Regions from separate parts of the Homo sapiens genome. Here region 1 is linked to region 2. Evidence: promoter capture Hi-C in human tissues and cell types (Jung and others, 2019). All regions are on one chromosome and are shown on one strand. Each heading gives the region's core, a stretch centred on a gene start or on the middle of the fragment in contact. The rest is flanking DNA. Distances are from core to core; before and after follow the strand shown.

Region 1 (5,720 bases), core at 2,775-5,274, 99 kb after region 2:
CAGGTCTTCTGGCTCCTAGGCTGGTGCTCCTTCCATGGCGTCAGTGGATTTTTCAAATAAGAAGTAGGGGTTTCAGCCTCTTACCCCACTTTAATCAGAACAGCTGCACTGCTTTATGTGTTGGAATTCCACAGTACATTTGATTTGAAATAAGGGTTCAGATGCTTTAAAAATGTTTGAAAAGTATTATTAAAAGTATATTCTTTGAAGTCTGCAAGTTCTAGGTGATTTTTGTTGTCAAGGCTTTTATTTTGATGATAATATAAAAATATTTTGCTAACACTTAACTTTTTTGCAGTGATAATTTATGAAGGATAATTCTATGACTACGACTATAGTTTCCTTTTTTTTTTTTTTTTGAGACTGAGTCTAACTCTTGTTGCCCAGGCTGGAGTGCAATGGCATGATATCAGCTCACTGCAACCTCTGCCTCCCCGGTCCAAGCAATTCTCCTGCCTCAGGGTCCCGAGTAGCTGGGATTGCAGGCGCCCGCCACCACACCCAGCTAATTTTTTGTATTTTTTTAGTAAAGACGGGGTTTCACTATGTTGGCCAGGCTGGTCTGGAACTCCTGACCTCAGGCGATCCACCCGCCTCAGCCCCCCAAAGTGCTGGGATTACAGGCATGATCCACCATGCGCAGCCAGACTATAGTTTCTTAAGGAAGATTTTCTTAAATTGGGATTCACCGACCCAGGGCATCTAGTCCATTCTTCCATGTTGGAAGTATTTATTTTCCTTGAAAAGAAGTCTGTACATAAATTGATTCTGAGAAAGCTGTGCTAGATCTGCCGCTGCTTTTTTTGTTTTTGTTTTTTTGAGACAGGGTTCACTCTTGTCACCCAGGCTGGAGTGCGATGGCGCCATCTCGGCTCACTGCAACCTGCGCCTCCTGAGTTCAAGCAATTCTCCTGCCTCAGCCTCCTGAGTAGCTGGGATTACAGGCGCCTGCCACCGCACCCGGATAATTTTGTATTTTTACAAAATTAAGACGAGGTTTCACCATGTTGGCCAGGCTGGTCTCAAACTCCTGACCTCATGTGATCCACCCGCCTCGGCCTCCCAAAGTGCTGGGATGACAGGCGTGAACCACCACACGCAGCCTATCTGCTGCTGCTTAATGAGGCCTGGGGAGAGAATAGGGGAAGGAAGGGACTTATGCAAAAGTATCTTTCTATACTTCACTTTCCCTATGTCTCTTGGAAGAGGTAGGGACATTTCTTCTCCTCACTTTCCCTTTCTCTTCCAAGTTTTCCCCAAGGTGTAATATAGTGTGGGTGACGCTGCAGTCGGATAGGCTTGGGCTCAAATCCCAGCTTCCCATGGGGCAGGTTCTTTAACTCTCTATACCCCAGTTTTCCCATCTGTAAAGAAGCAATGGAGAAAGCACCTACCTCATAGAGCTATTGTGTCTATCAAGTGAGAATATTCATGTAAGCACTTAGCCTATTGCCTATATATTGTTACATGCTTATTAAATGTTAGCTATCATTATTGTTAATATTCATTCACCTTTAAAATCTCCTGGTGGTTTTCAGAGGCATAGAGCCGGCCATCTCGCACAATGTCTTCTACCAGCTGCTCATAGTCCTCTGCAAAGTCAACCAAGGTGAGGGGCTCAGGGGCGGGAGCTCTTCCTGCTCTCCTGGTTCCCTCTCAAAACTGACATACCTCCCCTTCTCACCCACCTCCTTGGCTTACCATCATAGGTAACATAGGGAATCTGGAAGCCACGGGCGCTGTTGGCCTCGCTTGTCTTGAAGTTGATCCAGAGCTTCCTGGAACGGGCAGTGAAGGCAATGGGACGCTCGTAGGTCTGGCAGGTCTCATAAGTGGTAATGGAGGATGGGGATGCTGGGAAGGCAAGCAGCAGGTCAGTAGAGCAGCAGGGCAGGCTACCCAAGCCCTCCTAGAACGTGGGCTGTACAGCTGGTGGTGGGGGTATAGGGCAAGAGAATCATTCTGACAAAGGCTCCCCCTTCGCATACACACACCCTACCCCACACCCTCTCCCATTGCCCACTGGGCTCATTCCACAATTCCTCCTTGATACCTGGGCACTCACATAGTGTAATAAATATGACATTTAAATGAATGGAATGGCAAAAATGCTAGGATAGGAAAGTGATACATGTAACGCCATTGGAGTTCTAGCCCCACTGCTAGCTTTCTTAACTCTGTTTTCTACCAAACATGTGTCATTGCTGTTTTCCTTTGTTAGCTTCTCTCTTCCTAAAGGCCTCTCACTATTTCACCCTCATAGATCCCTAACTTCACTGCCCCATTTCTTCCTGTATCAGTCTCTCTCTTTGTTCTCCGCCTTAACCAGATTTGGACTGCCCTTCCCTGGCCCAGCTCTGCAAGCCACCCACAGTTCTTTCTCATGACGAGGACGTCCCCACACTCATCCTCAGATGGCAGGAAGATCTCTGGTACCACGATAAGGATCTTGCGCTTGGGTGGGGGGTTGATGTTCCAGATGCACTCCACACCAGCTGGGTAGTTGCCCGGGTAGTTGGGGGACTCAATATAGCCAGTGAACTCACCCAGCTCCCCACCACACTGACGATCTGCAGCCAAACCCCAGTGGATAAAACAAGACAGAGAAGGGAAGTCAGTGGGGAAGTGTGCTGGGGGAATTGAAGAGTTCTGAAGTAGAGGTCAGACATTTATGGGAAGTCTGCGTTCTAGTTCATCATTATTTTCCAAGCTCTGAGTCCATCTTCCTTCCTGCCCTTTTAGTACCTTCTCTTCTCACTTCACCTGTCTCTGCTTCCTCATTAACTGTCTCCAGGGAGAGGGTGTTACAGGGTCCAGCCTAGCAACTGGCCTTGAGATTGAGTGAGTTGGGGAGAGGTGGAAGGTGGAGTTTTCCTGCTCCTCCACCCCCCAGCCCTGCTCCCTGTTGGTTTCACACCCCTCCTTTAGATGTCCACTGCTCCCAGGCCTCTCTCCTCCCTTTTGCACAGCCTGGCTTGCCACGTACTCTTGCATTGGGCCACACTGGTAGAGCCATCAAAGTCTGTGCTTGTGTTTCCTGGACAGCGGCTGCAGAAGTTCTGACGGAAGTCGGGCTGATAGGAGCCCATGGCACAGCGAATACAGCGGTGGATGCTGGTGTTGTAGTAGTGCCCTGGGGAGCACTGGACTGTAGGCAAGGGAGAAGGGCAGGAATCAAGATGGTAGGCAGGTGGGAGTTACGGGGCATGGGATGGACAGGATACATTCATCCTGGAGAATCAGGAGATCAGATACATCAAAGTTCTTTTCTAGGGTCTCAATCTTTCCCAGTCATGCCAGAATTTAAGCCCACGGAAAAACAGAGTTTACAGAGTGGTTGGCTACAGTGCCAATCCTTTTCTTTCAGACGCTGAGCACAGTGCCAAACCTATATAGAAACTCATTTGGGATATGGAGGAGAATATGCCACCAGTTCTCCAAAGTGGAGGGGTAAGTGGGACTGTTAATTATTTCTCAGTTCCCAAGCTTGGGACTAGTGGAGGGGCAGGGTGGGTCCTGGAAGCAGGATGGTATGGTTGGTCAAGTAGCTGGGCCCATTACTGGTTTGGAGAAAATGGTGGGTCAGTGTCCCCTCTGGGAAATTGGAGAGTTTTTTGGGAGTAGTTGGGGTTGGGGCATCCCCCAGGGAGGTGAGTAGCTTACTCACCTTTGGTGTCACAGTCTTGGAAGGAAATGGCCCCTTCATGCTTGGTGGTGAGGCCCCCACCACAAGGGAAGCATAGGGTCCGTCCTGCTTCAGGTTGGTAGGTGCCACGTGGGCATGGCTGACAGGGCTTGAACCCATCTACAGAGTGTTGGCCAGGTGGGCACTGACCTGCAATGAATCAAGGGCCCAACTCTGATGGGGATGGTCCTGAGTCATCCCCATGGGGTCACCCGATCTCAGGGGACAAAGGTATACAAACAGGATGTTGACTAAGAGAGTGGCCTGGAGCCTGGGCCTGCCCTTTGGGAAATCCCATGCCCATGGGCATCCCAGTGCCCACCCTACCCCACTCTGTATTGTTTGTTCCCCTGGCACCTGCACACGTGGTGACGTTGGTGGCTCCAAGAGGCCCGTGGGCATCACTCCCAGGGCAAAGGTCGCAGGAGAGCTGCCCTTCTCTCTCCTGGAAGGTGCCCGCTGGGCATGGCACACACTGCTCCGTCTGGCCGTGGTAATACGTTCCCTGCGGGCAGCTGACTGAGGGAGAGTCGGCCGCGCTAGCCACCCACCCCCGCATTTCCCACCACCCAGGCCTGGGACTCCCCTTCCCACTCCCCGCCACAACCCCCGATTCAGGGAGAATCTCTGTCAGGGAACAAACACAATCCTACTTGGGGGGATAGGAGGGTCAAAACCGTGTGCAGGAGGATTGCTGGCCCCACCTGGCATCCTTCTAGATTTCAGCCTGGAACCAAGGAAGGGAGGACAGCGGGCAGGAGCATCCTGGCTGCCTCATAATTTGAGAAATGCATCTGAGGCCACAAAGGGTCCTGCTCTGAGTCAGGCCCAAACTGGGTCTTTCCTACATCCCTGCTCCCCAGTAAGCTCCCTTACCACACTTGGTCCCAGCACGGTGCTGCCCGGGCCTACAGGACTCCATCGGCTCTGCTCGCTCCCCGGCTACCAGGCCCGGCTTGTGGGCCAGCTCATAATCAAGGCCTGCCAGGCGCAGCAGGAAGCGGTCCTGGTTGATGGACTTTCTGAGCATCTTCAGGGATCCTTTCAGCCGCCGTTCCATTCGCTGTCGGAGGCAGGGCAGCCCACAGCTGGCTGGTGGTGGATGGCCGTGTGTATCAGGGAGGAGAAAGAGTTGCTGTGAGCAGGAGGGCAGGGGAGCAAAGCTGGGAGCTAGGAGGGGCATGGTAAGAGGGACTAGCTTTTAGGCTTGGCACCAGGCAGGGTCTGCCCCTAGTACAGGCTCCATCCCTTCCTTTTGCTGCTGAGACCTGTGGTTTCCCCACCTCTGCCCTCCCCTTCCAGTCCTCTTCCCAACAGTGCCCCCAGTCCCACCTGTGGTTTCTTCGGCTCTGACCTCTGCCTCCAGTTCCAGGGTGAGCCTTGTGACCTCTTTGCCTGGAGGGGTCCGGGCCCGTCGGCCCTTGCCCTTCCGAGAGGAGTCACACTTAAGGTGGATGAAGGTGACCTGGCATTCAGAGCAGGGGGCACCACCTGGGAGAGAGGGCTTGTCAACCCCAGGGACATCCCCTGGAAAGTTCTCACTCCCAGCCCAGACAGACCTCCCCAGATCTCTAACTGTAACTATCTCTCAATCCTGTTTTAGTCTAGGGTCCTAATTAGTTGGTGGAGGGGAATATTCTGGGACTTCCTTGGGTGCTATGCCTACAGCTGCTTTTTCCTCTGCTCTGCCTAGAGTTCAGGGTTCTGGTGGGTTTTTGGAAGCAGAGGAGCTGAGGGGTAAGGAGGATTTAGTGGCCAGACAGCCAACTGGAATGGGGTCCCCAGTCCAAACCTGGCCCTGTGATTCTGCCAGCCTCCTCTGTTTTGCCTTTGTTTCGCAGGTGCAAACGGCATTTGGCATCCTTGATCTTGAAGGAGGCCCGTTGTTTAATGGACAGCACTGCAGCCTCTAGAGGGATGGTAGAAACTCAGCACAGTATGGGATGCCCATGGAGGTCGGGGGTGCCGTAGGGGTTGTTGAGAAGCTGGGTAATAAGCCAGGGGCTTGGCTGGGGGAGTGAGATTATGAAAGTCA
Region 2 (5,737 bases), core at 3,238-5,737:
ACAGCTTTAGCTGACAGGTGCCAGGGGCCCTCAAAGCAACTCTAATAAGTTATACCCACCGTAACTCAAAGAGTGTTCCTAAGGTAATCTGGCTCCTCGTCGGTCCCTTACACACCACCCTGAGATGTGATTCTGAGCCTGAGTCAGCAAATATTTCCCCAATCCTGGAAGGAGTCTGCTCACTCCCAAGTAAGCAGACACTGGCTTTGCTGATTTTATCAGGTCGGCGCAGAAGGCGCAGGCAAGGTAAGAAGGGAGCTGGGTAGAAGCTCATAAATGAAGATGTCCTGAGTCATAGTTGATGCCTTCACCAAAGCCCCTGCAGAATGAACTGGAGTCACATGCCAATCACCAGCCTGCTGAGTTATGAAGGCTAGGAGCCATCTGCCAAGGAAGAAGACCCATATGTCTGAAACCTGATGCAAGGGGCCATGTTCTCCCTGCCAGGCTCAAGGCAAGCTCCAAGGGCTCCTCTGACACCCTGGAATCCAGCTGTTGCAAGCAGCTCCTCACCCTGGCTCCAACGGCAGAGAAAAATGTGCATGGACACCAAACCATCTCCAAGAAGCAGCCATTAGGTAATCTGGGACATGGCATTGACAATGGCACCGGGCACAGGGCTTCTGACATCATATAAGCAAGGGCCTGGCAGAACGGACAAAGCCCACAGAGACCTGGGTAGGGAGGAAGAGAATGTTTCCAGTGTGGGCAATGCTGAGCAGTAAAGCTGTGTCCTGCAATTTCCAAGCCCTTCAGAGGCACTGGAGCAAGGCACCACTGTTCAGCTTCCCAGCCTGCAGAGAGCACTCAGGGAGGTGGGCCTCAGGGACAGGATATAGCTGAAGCCCTTAGAAGTGACAGGTCCAGGCTGGTTGTGGTGGCTCACGCCTGTAATCCCAGCACTTTGGGAGGCTGAGGCGGGCAGATCACGAGGTCAGGAAATCGAGACCATCTCGACTAACACGGTGAAACCCTGTCTCTACTAAAACTACAAAAAAAAATGAGCCAGGCGTGGTGGCGGGCGCCTGTAGTCCCAGCTACTCAGGAGGCTGAGGCAGAAGAATGGCGTGAACCTGGGAGATGGAGCTTGCAGTGAGCCAAGATCGCACCACTGCACTCCAGCCTGGGCGACAGAGCGAGACTCCATCTCAAAAAAAAAAAAAAAAAAAACGAAAAAAAAGTGACAGGTCCAACTCCTGAGAGAGAGGAGCTGCACTATCCCAGGATGTGCCAGAATCTGCAGGCCCTGAAGACAGCTTGCACAACAGTCAGGACAGCTGTAGGCCCAAAGCAGAGGCCTAATGGCTTCCCAGGCTAGTGCTCTACACTGTCTATCCTCTTACCAGGCCCTAAGGGAAGGCGTCTAAGGGACCACAGGTCGGGTTGAAAGGCTGAGTAGGAGCAATTCTTCCTGAATGGGTTAAGGCATATATCACACAAGAAGGCCATGGTGAAGAGGCAAGGAGAAAGGCACCTGAACGAGCAGTCAGTGTAATCTCAGTGCTCTGAGAGGCCAAGGTGAGGAGGACTGCTTGAGGCCAGGAGTTCGAGACATTGTGAGAGCCTGTCTTTACAAAAAAATTGTTTTTTAATTAGCTGAGTGTGGTGGTGTGCACCTGTAGTCCCCGCTACTCTGGAGGCTGAAGCAGGAAGATCCCTTGAGCCCAGGAGTTCGAGGTTACAGTGCACTATGATAGCACCACTGCACTCCAGCCTGGGCAATAGAACAAAACCTTGTGTCAGAAAAGAAAGAAGGAAAGAAAATCCAGACCCAGACTCTGCAAAAATCACTGAATGGGGAAGGAATTTGGTAATTGACAATCATGACTACCTTCTCAGAAAATGAGAGTGGACAAACTGCAAGAAGCTATCCATCTAGGGCTGCTGGTGCCCAAGCTGCTCCACAAGGACTGGCCTTGACCTGTTCTCAAATCTCTCACCTGCCACCACAGCAGAGAGCACTACTAAGGGGTAAGCACGGCCAGAAGTAACAAACTGCTCAAAAGAGTAAGGAGGAGTCCTTGAAAGCCAGAGACTAGACTAAAAATCTGTCCAACACTTGACCTCTACCTCTTTAGAATGATCCACTAAAACCCTGGAGAGATGCTATTCACAGGAACAAGGAAAACCCTCTGGTCCAGTCTACCCAAATCTTTGCAAGTGCTGCAAAGGGGGTCTGGGGGTCAGTGGAGAAGGGACTGGCTCAACAACAGGCCATCCACAATCCTATTGCTTTCACAGAAAACAGTGTACAAGAGGATTACAAAACTTTAAAGTCTGGTCAAGCTGGTTCCTTTGGCTCTCCACCGCAGCTCCTAAAGGTTGCCAACTCCCATGTCCAATCTGGCTCAAAGACAGCACAATCATCAAAAGAGGAGCCCCTAGAAACCTGGGGCCAGGTGAAACAATGAGCCTTCATTTCTAAACATGAGAGTGGGTCACGCTTTCAGAATCCTCCAAGATCAGACTGGGTAGAAACAAAGGATATGTTATTTCTTGAATACTTCTTTAGAGAACCAACGCCAAATAAAGGAGCTCAAACTGAAGGATATGACGAGAATCTTCTGCTTGGTAAGGTTAAACATCCAGACACACATGGAAGGTGGTGGGCTCTCAAGCCCCAGAGAAGATGATCTATGTGACTGGAAGCAGATGTGTCTGCTCAAGTTCCTGACAAGGTCTAACTACTGCAGCCCCACAGCCCACCAGGGTAGTTATCAATCTGATACCTCATACTATGCCTGGGCAAAGGGAACAGAGCTCTGGGATTGCCGTTCCTCCTGGATACAGAGGAAATTAAGCTCCCAGGGAAAAAGAGGGACAATTTGGATTCCCTAGATTCAGAAAAGAACAAAGAAAAAAGAGGGAGAAGAGACTCCAAGAGAACATGTTCAGTGACCAACATCAGAGGCACATTCAGTTGGCCAAAGATTGTCAAAGAGATATGAGAGAAAATCAGCAGCTGTTTCAAGCCACCAATAATAAAAGGGGACAGATGCCCGCCAGCCCCAGGGCTATCAGGCCAGCAATCTATTTCAAAACTCAAACGGGAAAAAAAAAAGTTCTGGAGCCAGTACACAGAAAAAAGGTTGAGGACCACAAGTATTTTCTGGAGCACAGCTTCTGGAGAATTCTCTTAGTCCTTTCGGATGGAGCACAGGGTGGAGGGTGGGAGTGAGGGCAGAGAGAGGCTGGGGTATCATGGTATAAGTGTATTCCACACATCCAGAGTGGAAAGACACAAAACCCCGGTTCCTGGAAGGGGAAAAGAATTGGACAAAGCCTCCGGCTACCCGTGGCACACATCCAGCTCAGCGCCGTCTCCCCCAAGGGTTCCTGGAAGTCAACAGCCCCATAAAGGGGAAGTATTAAAGCTGAGATAAGAAGAATGGCCTACAAATTGGACATCATCTCTGATGCAACACCCACGTACATTCTCCCACACAATCTGTTATTTCCTTTAGTCAATCAGCCTCTTAATTCGATCAAGGTCTGAACACCTCCACCCCCACCCCATGGTTATGTCAACTGCAGGTCAAGTGAAAGTAGAGTAGAGTGTGGAGCTAAGGCTTCTCCCTGAAGCAGGGGAAAGGAACAGGGAGAGAAAAGGAGGTGGGCGACAGGAATGTAGGGGACAGAATTGATACGAAGGAAATCGGAAAAAGGAGCAAAAACAGGGCCTCTCAGGGAACCAAGGTGAGAGTCTTAGGGAGACAGGGACTGCAGGCACGGAGTTGGAAAAAGCCTAGGAACACCCTGGGGAAGAGGATGGGGACCCATAATACTAGGAGGGATCAGACCACAGATAAGAAGGGGACAGGGATGGGGAGAGAGAGTAAAGCCTGAGAGAGCAAGGATGGGAGGATGAAGGCAGGAGACAAGGATAACGAGGGGGACAGAGGAAAAGATCCCAGAGAAGACTCTCGCTAGATAGGGCAGTGGATTCAGGAACACCAGAAACGGGTGAAGGAAGAGGTCAGAGGCAGGGGAGGGGAATGGGAGAGGCCCCCGGGCCTGAGACGGGGTTCTCACAAGTGGGAGAAGACGAAGCCACCAGGCCCAAGAGGGGGCAAAGAGTAGGGTGGAAGGAGGCCCGTATTTCGGACTCACTCAAGCAGCTATGGGGGTCCAAGGGCGGGGGGGCGCAGGGTCAGCGGGGCGCCTACATGGCAACGCACGACGGCTGACCGGAGCGGGCCGGAGCATCAGGAAGCCGCCGTGACGCTGTCCGCGGACCCCGGCAGCTCCCCGCACCCCGTTCCCCGCCGCCGGGCCTTGCGCCCCAGTCCCGCTGGCCGCCTCGGCCCAGGCCCGGCGCTTCCCTCCGCCACTTGCCTGACCGCTTCTCTCGTCTCGGACTGACCTGTCCCGGCTGCCTACGGCGCCACCGCCGCCGTCCCGCAGGCTCCGCAGAATTCTCCCGCTCCTGCCAAAACTTTTCCCATTAATCCCCAGGTCCGCGGCGGCCGCAGCGTCACACGCTCCGCGGCCCGGCCCCGCCCCCGCCAGCGAGACGTCACCGCGCTGCTCGGCCTTTCCCTCCCCACGCCCCCTTCCGCCCGGCGGCGGCCAATCACCACGCCTCCTGGAGACTCCCCTAATTCTGCCTCTCCGCCCACCGCACGCTGCCCCGGGCCAGCCTGTGGCGCCCTCTGGTGCGGGATGCGGACGTAGCAGCTAAGGGAGGAGCAGGGGAGCGCCAGGTCCAGTAGAACAAGTCCAGCAAGTGACACAAGAGGGAATTTAAAGCTGGAAGGGAATTTCTAGGTCATCTAGTGCAACCTCCTCATCTTCCAGTGAAGAAACTTAGTCCTAGAAAAGGTACGTGACTTGCAGTGACAAGTCTGGAGAGACTCTTAACCCAGTGCTAGGTCCACTGGAGGAGATCATATCGCCTATAATTTTCAAAAAAGGGCTTTCCGCCTTCAAGAGGCTTCTACAACTGGAAATTTACGGTCTTAGAGTTCTTAACCTTTCTTCCCATGTGCTTATGCAATACGCTTATTCACCTAAAATAGGGGACATCCTCCTTATTGTTGTAGAAAATTCTGTTCTTATTAATCCACATCTTTAAGACCTGGAAGGGACCTATTATCCCAACCTACCGCTTAAGATGTACCACAGGAAACTACCTAGCAGCTGGGAGGCAATCTGGTGGAAGAAGTTGGCTTTCATCTGACGATGAACAAAGCTTGACTCTCAGGTATATGACCAATGCCTCCCCTCCATCATCATTAAAGATGACCCCTCCCCTCTCCTTCGGCCACACCTTCCGTAGGCCGCAAGCTCCTTAGGCCACACCTAGCTATCTGGATGAGTGATTTTTTTTTTTTTTTTTTTTTTTGAGACACAGTTTCACTCTGTCGCCCCTGCTGGAGTGCAGTTGCGCAATCTCAGCCCGCTGCAACCTCCGCCTCCCGGGTTCAAGCGATTATCCTGCCTCAACCTCCCAAGTAGCTGGGATTACAGGCATGCGCCACACGCCCAGCTAATTATTGTAATTTTAGTAGAGACAGGGTTTTGCCATGTTGCCCAGGCTGGTCTTGAACTCCTGGACTCAAGTTATCCTCCCACCTTAGCCTCCCAAAGTGCTGGAATTACAGGCGTGAGCCACCGTGCCTGGCAGGGATGAGTGATTTTTTCCCCCTTCTTTCTGCTTCTCTTTTTCTTTTTCTTTTTTTTCCCCTACTTTTTGAAATGCTTGTGCATTATATTTGTAACTTAGATGTCAACCTCC

Evidence for each region. Contacts are between HindIII fragments. The study calls those that stand out against the background at their distance.
Region 1: a fragment that was not itself captured here is called in contact with the fragment with the promoter of PPARD in region 2 in 2 of the 25 tissues and cell types used here (liver and spleen).

Annotation. Positions count from the first base shown.
Region 1 is chr6:35,242,078-35,247,797 of GRCh38, reverse strand. SCUBE3 (signal peptide, CUB domain and EGF like domain containing 3) reads right to left here. Exons shown (of 22, transcript NM_152753.4): 13 at 5,478-5,594; 14 at 5,018-5,176; 15 at 4,562-4,777; 16 at 4,043-4,204; 17 at 3,668-3,835; 18 at 2,987-3,148; 19 at 2,373-2,570; 20 at 1,702-1,854; 21 at 1,513-1,592. It overlaps SCUBE3-AS1 (SCUBE3 antisense RNA 1), which reads left to right. Exons shown (of 4, transcript XR_001744102.2): 2 at 1,539-1,609; 3 at 3,368-3,450. Among named protein-coding and RNA genes, the nearest start is that of SCUBE3-AS1, 15 kb to the left of the region's middle. RefSeq lists enhancers at 1-6, 3,307-4,506. The HindIII fragment of the contact is 7,267 bases long and covers 391-5,720 here.
Region 2 is chr6:35,341,308-35,347,044 of GRCh38, reverse strand. It overlaps PPARD (peroxisome proliferator activated receptor delta), which reads right to left and starts at 4,487. Exons shown (of 8, transcript NM_006238.5): 1 at 4,364-4,487. RefSeq lists silencers at 4,026-4,075, 4,106-4,245, 4,426-4,635. The HindIII fragment of the contact is 18,171 bases long and covers 1-5,737 here.